Regions from separate parts of the Homo sapiens genome. Here region 1 is linked to region 2. Evidence: promoter capture Hi-C in human tissues and cell types (Jung and others, 2019). All regions are on one chromosome and are shown on one strand. Each heading gives the region's core, a stretch centred on a gene start or on the middle of the fragment in contact. The rest is flanking DNA. Distances are from core to core; before and after follow the strand shown. Region 1 has its middle 12 kb from the start of TOMM7. Region 2 holds the start of IL6 (interleukin 6).

Region 1 (4,692 bases), core at 1,126-3,625, 83 kb before region 2:
TAACTCCTTCTAGGATATTCCGAGGTAGTAAGAATACAGATAGTTCTGTTTGTGACAAACCAAGCTGTTACTTCCTCCTCTGCATTAAAGTTCTGACTGCAAGAAATAAAGGTCCTGGCGGCTCTGTTGCTAGGGGGTGGGAATGGCACTGGAGAGTTGTGTGATTTATTTGTAGGTTAAATGTGAGGCTAAAGTTTCCCTCAGTTATATTAGGAAACTAGAGCTGGCTGGGCAAGAGCCCGTGGAGAGCTACATGGAATAGTAGCACTATTTTCTGGTAGAAGGAAAGGCAGCTAATTAATGGAAACTAGTTTTCAGTTCTAGACACTGGTTTCCTGGGACCTTCACCTGTATTTGAATCCTACTTTTATTATTTAGTTTTTTCCGTTCTTCTAACAAAATAGCGTTATTTACTACGTTTGGCCATTGTTACTAATACAAGAAAGTAGAACCTGAAACGGACAGTTTGGAAAGAGCCTATTGGGTTGAATATTTTAAGCATCCAGTGTTTAGGCATGATCATGACTATAATCCCTCTCAGGTGCTGGGAGCTGCCATCACCAGAAAGTTCTTATTTCTAATGTAAAACCCTCTTAGCTATTTAAGCCTATTTCCTCAAGGCTTGTTACCTTTGCCATGGAGACATAGAAGACTATTGTGGTGTCTTGTTGCATAAAGGGATTTTAAAGTGGAATTCTTGAGAGCTAACTGCAGGAAATCAGTTTTGGTAAGTACTTAACGTAACTGCTTCAGCATCTTTGTGAATCTAGGCGTGTGTAATTTTGCTGAAAACTGTATTAAAATTCCATAGAATTGCTTAAGTTTGTAGTTCCCCCCAATCCTTTTTGCCAAGTGCATTGTCAGGGAATTTTTGTTTAGTAAGTATTTTGTTTATACGTTTTTCTTCTGTTTCTCACTTGGGATTTTCAGAAATTGAGAAAGCTGTGTCAGGTATCTGTTTTGATTACATAGTAATGTGAAGGGTAAACAACTGGTTGTGGTTTTTTTATTTTTTATTTTTTTGTTTTTTGAGATGGAGTCTCGCTCTGTCACCAGGCTGGAGCACAGTGGTGTGATTTTGGCTCACTGCAACCTCCACCTCCTGGGTTCAAGTGATTCCCCTGCCTCAGTCTCCCGAGTAGCTGGGACTACAGGTGCATGCCACTACAGTTGGCCAATATTTTGTATTTTGGTAGAGATGGGGTTTCACCGTGTTGGCCAGGATGGTCTCGATCTCCTGACCTTGTGATGCGCCTGCCTCAGCCTCCCAAAGTGCTGGGATTACAGGTGTGAGGCACTGCGCCCCATCTGGTTGTGTTCTTTTAAGGATGACCTTTGTGAACCCCAAATGTCTGAGACAGGTTTCAGTCAATTTAGAAAGTTTATTTTGCCAAGGTTAAGGATGCGCCCATGACACAGCCTCAGGAAGTCCTGAGGAGGTGTGCCCAAGGTGGTCGGGGTACGTAGTTTGCTTTTATACATTTTGGGGAGATGTGAGACATAAATCAGTATGTCTAAGATGTACATTGGTTTGGTCTGGTAAGGCGGGACAACTCTAAGTGGGGGCTTCCAGGTTATAAGTAGGTAAGAGACAAAAGGTTGCTTTCTTTTGAGTCCTTGGTCAGCCTGAATACACAATTTAGTCTGGCTCAATGAGTCTGCATTTTTACATAAATAGTGCAGAGGAAGCAGTCATATGCATTTGTGTCAGGTGAGTCTCAGAGGGATGACTTTGAGTTCTGTCTGTCCTTTGTCCACAAGAAATTTCCTGTGGGCAAATTGTGAGGGAGGTATGTAGCTTCTTTTCTTTGTGGCTGTCTTATTTACAAATAAAACAGGAGGAAGTTTGGCCTGACAGTTCCCAGCTTGACTTTTCTCTTGGCTTAGTGATTTTGGGGGTCCTGAGATTTATTTTCCTTTCACACCTTGTAGCTATCTGTAAAACCTCAGAAGATTTTAAAATAAGGCATCCAGAATTAAGTAGGAAGGAACCAGCTCCCTGATCTCAGGTCTACGGAAGCTAGGAACAGAGTTTAAGCACTTCTTCAGGGCACAGCCTAAGAGCTGAGACTAGTACACAGTTTAATGTGTATGTATATATTATAAAGTTTGTGAAATGTTTAAGCTCCCACATTTTATGAGTTTTAGTTTTTAGGACAGTACAATTCAAGCATTTATTGATTTCTGTTCTGTGCTAGACACTAGAGAGTCCTTATGATTGAGATTATTCCTGACCTTGATTAGCTCATGGAAAAACACTGAGCTGGTAGGACCTGATTTAAGTCCTGGCCCTGTCAGTTCTAGAACCTTTGGTGAAGTCACTTTTGTTTTTTCCTGTTGTGGGGAGAACAAGGCCTCTGTGTTGCCCAGGCAGGTCTGAAACTCCTGGGCCCAAGCTATCCTCCTGCCTCTGCCTCCCAAAGTGCTGGGATTATAGGCGTGAGCCACCGCGCTTGGCTGAAGTCACTTAATCTTTAGGTTTCTTCCACAAGATAGGAACAATAATACCTGCCCCAGGATATTATTTTCTAAACAAGTGATTTTCATAGCTGGTCCCAGACTAGCTTCACCTGGAAACTTGTTAAAATGCACATTTTCAAGTCTTACTCCAGACCTGAATCAGAAACTGGTGATGAAGCCCAGCAATGTGGGTATGCCTGTGTGTTTCATTTCCTCAAACATTATTTTAAGCATATTTTGAGAAAATTGTAGAGTTGTATACAGTGTAAGAAATGATACAGAAAGATCCCTGTATCCTTTACAGTTTCCCCCAATGGTAATATCTTGTGTGAACCCCAATTATCGGAGACAGATCTCAGTTAATTAGGAAGTTTATTTTGCCAAAGTTAAGGACGTGCACCTGTGACACAGCCTCAGGAGGTCCTGATGGCATGTGTCCAAGGTGGTTGGGGCACAGCTTGTTTTTATACATTTTAGGGAGACACAAAACTTCAATCAATATATGTAAGATAAATAGTGGTTTGGTCCAGGAAGGTGGGACAACTCGAAGTGAGGTAGGAAGCTTCCAGGTCACAGGTAGATAAGAGACAAATGGCTGCATTGTTTTGAGTTTCTGATTAGCCTTTCCAAATGAGTCAATCAGATATATGTTAATCTCAGTGGACAGAAGCATGACTTTGAATAGAATGGAAGGCAGGTTTGTCCCAAGCAGTTCCCAGCTTGACTTTTCCCTTTAGCTTAGTGATTTTGGTGTCCCAAGATTTATTTTCCTTTCACACTTGCAAAACTGTGGTCAGCATCAGGATATTGACATTGATGAAGTCAAGAAAGAACATCTATCACCACAAGGATCCCTTGTATGGTGGGATATAGTCAACCTTTCTCCTCCTACCCTGCCCCTACCGCTAACCCCTGGCAACCAGGAAATCTGTTGACTACTTTTATAATTTTGTCATGTCAAGCAAGTTCTATAAATGGAATCAGACAGCTTTTGGGTTTGGCTTTTTTCAGTCAGCATAATTCTCTGTAGATTTATCAAAATAGTTTTTTCCTTTTTATTGCTGAGTAGTATTCCACGGGATGGATGTACAAGGATGACATCTGGGCTCCCAATTTTTAGCTGTTACAAGCAAAACTGCTGTGAGCAATTGTGTACAGGTTTTTGTATGATTAATCTGTGATTTAACAAATCACAGGTGCTTCTGATGCAAGTCAAGTTTGAGAACTTCCCCAGACTTGCAGTAGCCTTCTTGCTTTCACCTGTGCATTACAGTGTGCTCTCAATGGAACATCCAGAGTGATCCTTTTAAAAATAAGATCACATCACATCCTGATCAAAGTTTTCCAGTGATTTCCCATCTCACTGGGAATGAAATCCCAAGTACTTATTTTCTGTGACCTACAAGACCCAATGTCATCTGGCCTTCTGCACCTTTGGTCTCTTTGTTGCCTATGATTCATCACCCACATTTGCTTGTACTCTTTCTGTTTTGTTCCTATCCAGAGAAAGTCCAAGTATAGTCTCACCTTGTAGTCTGTACTACCTGTTCTCTGCTAGAACTCTCTCCTCCCAGATATCTATATGGTTGGCTTCCTCTATTCCAGTCTGCCTAAATGTCATCTTGTTAGAGGGCTTCCCTGATCCTTTAAAATAGAAGACCCTAAACCTGTGTTGCGGATGCAGAATTTTTGCTCCTTAGTTAGCTAAATCCAGGTTCTTGTGTCATGACCAGGAGAAATTAGGCACACAGACACATTGAAGGGTGAGGAGGGCTGAATTTATTGGGTGAGAAGGAAAAAAAAAAAACTCAGCAAAGTGAGAGGGGGTCCTGCTAACAGAGGGAACCCCCCGACCCACCTCGCAGATTGAATAGCAGGCCACCACAGACATTGGCTGAAGAGACCAGGCTCCTCCCCACTGCACAGGGTGAGAACTTCCCATGGCTCCACCCCGTTCCCCCAGTGTGCATGTGGGCATTATTCAGAAAGAGTCAGTTGGGAAAGGGTGGGCAAACGGGCAGTTCTCCCTGAGGGTCGAGGGTTTCATCTGGGACCAGCAGTCCAGTCCCTCAGCCTTCGAGCTGTTTTAGGCTTGAAGGTGAGGTTTGCCAGTGACTGTTGACTGTCTCCTCTATCACGCTCTTCTCTAAAGAAGTACATCTAATTGCCATTAGATAAGCATAAGGATGAGGACAAATATCAATCTTAACTGCTTCCTTCTGGCAGGGGGTG
Region 2 (4,799 bases), core at 497-2,996:
CCTCATGAAATTTACATAACATTCTTTACATTTACCCACTTTTTGTTGCTGCCTGGATCTATATGTATACAGGCACTGCATGCAAGAGGGAGAAGTTTTGCCTAAGGAATAGTGAAAAGTGAGTGCGACAAGTTGGTACCTCATTGAATCCAGATTGGAAGCATCCATCTTTTTCAGCCATCTTTGGAAGGTTCAGGTTGTTTTCTGCCAGTGCCTCTTTGCTGCTTTCACACATGTTACTCTTGTTACATGTCTGGGAAAGAATACCAGAATTGTTATCACCTAAGTGTCCCTAAAACAAACACCACTAGAGGGCCTTTTCATTGTTCAACCACAGCCAGGAAAGTCTCTAAGAAAAATGAAGCTACAACTCATTGGCATCCTGGCAAGCAAATTCCAGTGGAGTGGGGGCACACTTGGGTTCAGTTCCAAGCTCACCTGTGACTTTAGGTGTGTTACTTAATCCTGAGTCTCAGTTTCCTTATCTCCAAAAACCTTCCTTGCAAATTTGTTTTGAAGATTAGACACAATATTTATTTAAAGTGCCTGGCACACAGTAGATACTTAATAACAGCAATTTTGACAATAATTAGGAGAATATAATTCAAGCCATAGAATGTTCCAGCAGGAAGGATCTATGAGATCACCTAGTCCACGCCCAATTTTACTGATGGAGTCCAGAGGTGGTAGGGAATTTACCCAAGATCACAAGGCTGGTTTGGCAGAACCAGAATTCGAGTGTGGGCTCCCAATCTCCCCTCCTGTGTTCTTTTCTTTCTACCAAACAGGACCAAAATACCTTGCATTGAAAGTGGGGAGATGCTTTAACCTATTTATGATTTGCCACTTTGGTGGGCTCTGAGGTATGAATCTTAGCTGGAATGGCTTTGAGGAATCCTAGCCATTGAGTTTACATAACCAAAAAGTACTGCAACTGCTCTGAGAAGCTGAACATGCCTTTCAGGTGGCACTTTTCTAGTCCTTCCAAAGCCCGGGGGACAAAAAGGAGCTTCACAGACCTAATTTTTTGGAAAGGGAAAAGGAAGCCCTGAGAAGCAATAACCCTCAGCTCATGCCAAAGGTGGGCATGGATTTCAGACCCATTCTGCATTTTCCAGAAAGGAAAGGAACTTCCTGACACCAGCAAAGGATAAATACAGAAGTCAGTCTAGTCGGCCCCGTTGGCCTCAAATCTACAGTGCTCTAGAACCCAGCAAAGACCTCCTAATGCAGGCAGCCCCCGGCCACACGCAGGGGCAAGGGGAACGCATGCGCACCGGGCCCTTCAACCCCATCGCCAAGCCTACCCACCTCCTTTCTCAGGGCTGAGATGCCGTCGAGGATGTACCGAATTTGTTTGTCAATTCGTTCTGAAGAGGTGAGTGGCTGTCTGTGTGGGGCGGCTACATCTTTGGAATCTTCTCCTGGGGGTACTGGGGCAGGGAAGGCAGCAGGCAACACCAGGAGCAGCCCCAGGGAGAAGGCAACTGGACCGAAGGCGCCTGTGCCGGAGGGGAGCGAGCGCAGGGGTGAGCTGACAGCACAGCTGGGAGCCTGCCTCTGCTGCTGGCCGCCCGCCAGCCCTCCCTGGGCCACACACCCCTCCCTCACACAGGGCTCGACCGCCGCTGGCAGTTCCAGGGCTAAGGATTTCCTGCACTTACTTGTGGAGAAGGAGTTCATAGCTGGGCTCCTGGAGGGGAGATAGAGCTTCTCTTTCGTTCCCGGTGGGCTCGAGGGCAGAATGAGCCTCAGACATCTCCAGTCCTATATTTATTGGGGGTTGAGACTCTAATATTGAGACTCATGGGAAAATCCCACATTTGATAAATCTTTGTTGGAGGGTGAGGGTGGGGCCAGAGCGGGTGGGGCTGATTGGAAACCTTATTAAGATTGTGCAATGTGACGTCCTTTAGCATGGCAAGACACAACTAGGGGGAAAAGTGCAGCTTAGGTCGTCATTGAGGCTAGCGCTAAGAAGCAGAACCACTCTTCCTTTACTTTCTTTTTTTCTTTTATTAGTGACTCAGCACTTTGGCATGTCTTGACAAAGAGTAAAGCTGAAGTCATGCACGAAGTTTTACAAAGAGAAAAAAAATAAGCTAAAGCTATGTTTTTTGAAAAAAAAAAAATTTTTTTTCAGTGACCAGATTAACAGGCTAGAATTTAGCGTTCCAGTTAATTTGTATTTGTAAAAACCAAAGATGTTCTGAACTGAGTTTCCTCTGACTCCATCGCAGCCCCCCAAGCCTGGGATTATGAAGAAGGTAATACTACCAGTCATCTGAGTTCTTCTGTGTTCTGGCTCTCCCTGTGAGCGGCTGTTGTAGAACTGCCTGGCCATCCTCAAATTTCGTGCAGTTACTTCAAGGCGTCTCCAGGTGGAGTGTGTGACTCCTTTTTGCCACCGCGTGGCTTCTGCCACTTTCTTCACCTGCTTCAGCCCACTTAGAGGAGGTTGGCTGCTGCCCTGCCCTCTCCCAAGTGACCCCTTGGGAATCCTCCCAGTGAGGACTTTGCTCTCTGTGCCAGAGGTTTGCCTTGTGCTGCCAGTGCTCTCCCCATTGCCACTGAGTCTCTTCACCACTGTTTCACTGGGGCACCTGCATGGGCCCCAGGTCTCCTGGAGCCCTGAAATTACTGAAGCCCACTTGGTTCAGGGCAGAAAGGGGGAGAATACTACTCACCTCTTTGTTGGGGATGTCAAAGGAGGACCTTGTGGCATCTTGCAGAGTTTGTGTTTATCGCTCCCTCTCCCTGTAAGTCTTGATTTGAAATCAAAAGAAGCTAGAAGGAAACTACGGACGCAGGCACGGCTCTAGGCTCTGAATCTGCTTCCGCGTCGGCACCCAAGAATTTCTTATTGGGTCAAGCTGGTTCAGAAGCCCTCTTCCCTCAGGATGGTGTCTCTTGCAGGAGGATCCTTGGTCTCATGCAAATGGGCTCTAGACTAGGTTGTCCCTCCAGTCTCCAGAGACCCAGACAGCTCTGAGATGGCTTCAGGCTGAAACCAGACCCTTGCACAACACCAAAACACTTATTTACCAAACATGGTGTTACCTTCACAATCGGTTTCTTTGCTTTGCTAAGAAGAGATCTCTTCAAGATCGATAAAACAGTGACCTCTGTTGGGCATTTACTCAAGTTTTGTTTCGTGCATAACATTTCAGGACCCGCCTGTTGGGGAAAGTGAGGTCATCCATTCTTCACCGATTGTCTAAACAGAGACGGTGGTCCTCTGCCGCGGTGGGATTCTTTGGTGTGAAAATGAAAATGGGGGAGGATGGCTGGATGGTTTCATTTTTAGTGCTCTCCTGTCTTAAGCAACGTAGACACTCCTGAACCAAGTTCTCTTTCCTGCATGAAACGAAGCCACTGCTCCCAGCTCCGCAGCCGTGCACTGTGATCCGTCTATGTAATGTGAGCTTGCTTTTACTCAACTATCTATTTTTTAGAAAATACAATTCAATAAATTTCAAGTACTTGAACTGAGTGACACAATACAACACACAGATTTATCTTTTCAATAAAAAGTGTTTTTTAAATAGGAAGTTCGTGTTCATGATAAAATGTTCAAATAGGACATCAGGGCATGCAGGGAAAAGTGTCTCCTTCCTCTCCTGGCCCCTTTTCCCAGAGGTAGCACCTAATTGCCTGTATTTTCAACCAAATCCTCTGTTATCCTAGCCTGGGAAAGGTTTTCTCGTCTTCCCAGCTGTTTGATCCTGGCTGTTACATCAAGGACCTGTGCCCTTGTTTATTCACCTATAAAACGGGGGTAATAATAGTTCTTCCTTTCTAGGGCTGTTGTGAAGATGGAACGTGATGCAGTGTAAAAAATTCCTGGCGCATAGTAATCCCACAATACATGCTAGCTCTTTGAACATTCCTTGGCTCAGAGTCTCTGCCTTGGAGAGCTCTTCCAGCTCGGCTATATCGGTTCACCTGGTGTCTTGCCTATGAAGGAATTATGAATGAACCAGGCCTCTGTGCCAGCAATGAGCTGGTCTCCCAATCATTTTCCCTCAAAAGAAATGAGATTCTATGTTTTGTTGAAAATGTTTTATGGCACAAAGTGCAAAATGAAAAATAATAATAATTTTCTTTTTTGAGAACATTAAGATCCCCAAACCAGGTCTCTTGTTTTAGATAATTAGTCCAGCTTGCGTCTTGCTCCTACTAGACTTTTTCCAAGCCCTCCACTAAGTGTTTTTATGTCAGAATTCCACAGCCTTCCCTGTGCATGGTGATTGCCATTAATTCAAACTCCTGATAGTGGCCCTCGAGGGTGAAGGGGCCTGATGCTTCTGGGGTCAAGAAAGGGCAAACTGTGGGAAGGCATGTGTGTAGGGAGCTTGGAGACACTGTCTGCCCCCTGCACATCGCAGCATGGCACTTTATTAGTATCAATGCTTTGGGCTGGAATTTGCTTGTGGGAGAGATGAGCTCTACCTTGCTCCAAAAACGTTAATGTAACTGACATGTGCAATTCCACAATGATAGCTTCCTTCCTTTGCATCTCAATGGATTTTTCGCGTGGAGAGCTCATTCTTTGTTTTTTCTTGTTTTGTTTTGTTTTTTCTCTTGAGAAGGAGTCTTGCTCTGTTGCCCAGGCTGGAGGGCAATGGCATGATCTTGGCTCACTTCAACCGCCGCCTCCCAGGTTCAAGCAATTCTCTTGCCTCAGCCTCCTGAGTAGCTGGGACTACAGATGCATGCGACCACGCCCAGCTACTTTTTGTATTTTTAGTAGAAACGGGGTTTTGCCATGTTGGCCAGGCGGGTCTTGAACTCCTGAC

Evidence for each region. The method cuts DNA at HindIII sites, captures the fragments that hold promoters and counts their contacts. A contact is called where the count stands out against the background at its distance.
Region 1: a contact is called between a fragment that was not itself captured here and the fragment with the promoter of IL6 in region 2, in 3 of the 25 tissues and cell types used here (H1 embryonic stem cells, IMR-90 fibroblasts and pancreas).

What each region holds. Positions count from the first base shown.
Region 1 is chr7:22,808,046-22,812,737 of GRCh38, reverse strand. No RefSeq gene overlaps it. Among named protein-coding and RNA genes, the nearest start is that of TOMM7, 12 kb to the left of the region's middle. RefSeq lists an enhancer at 569-1,524. The HindIII fragment of the contact is 9,601 bases long and covers 1-4,692 here.
Region 2 is chr7:22,724,147-22,728,945 of GRCh38, reverse strand. It overlaps IL6 (interleukin 6), which reads right to left and starts at 1,746. Exons shown (of 5, transcript NM_000600.5): 1 at 1,665-1,746; 2 at 1,312-1,502; 3 at 140-253. The coding sequence starts at 1,683. IL6-AS1 (IL6 antisense RNA 1) reads left to right here and starts at 1,326. Exons shown (of 2, transcript NR_131935.1): 1 at 1,326-1,378; 2 at 2,241-3,551. RefSeq lists an enhancer at 1,097-2,296 and a silencer at 2,282-2,331. The HindIII fragment of the contact is 12,372 bases long and covers 1-4,799 here.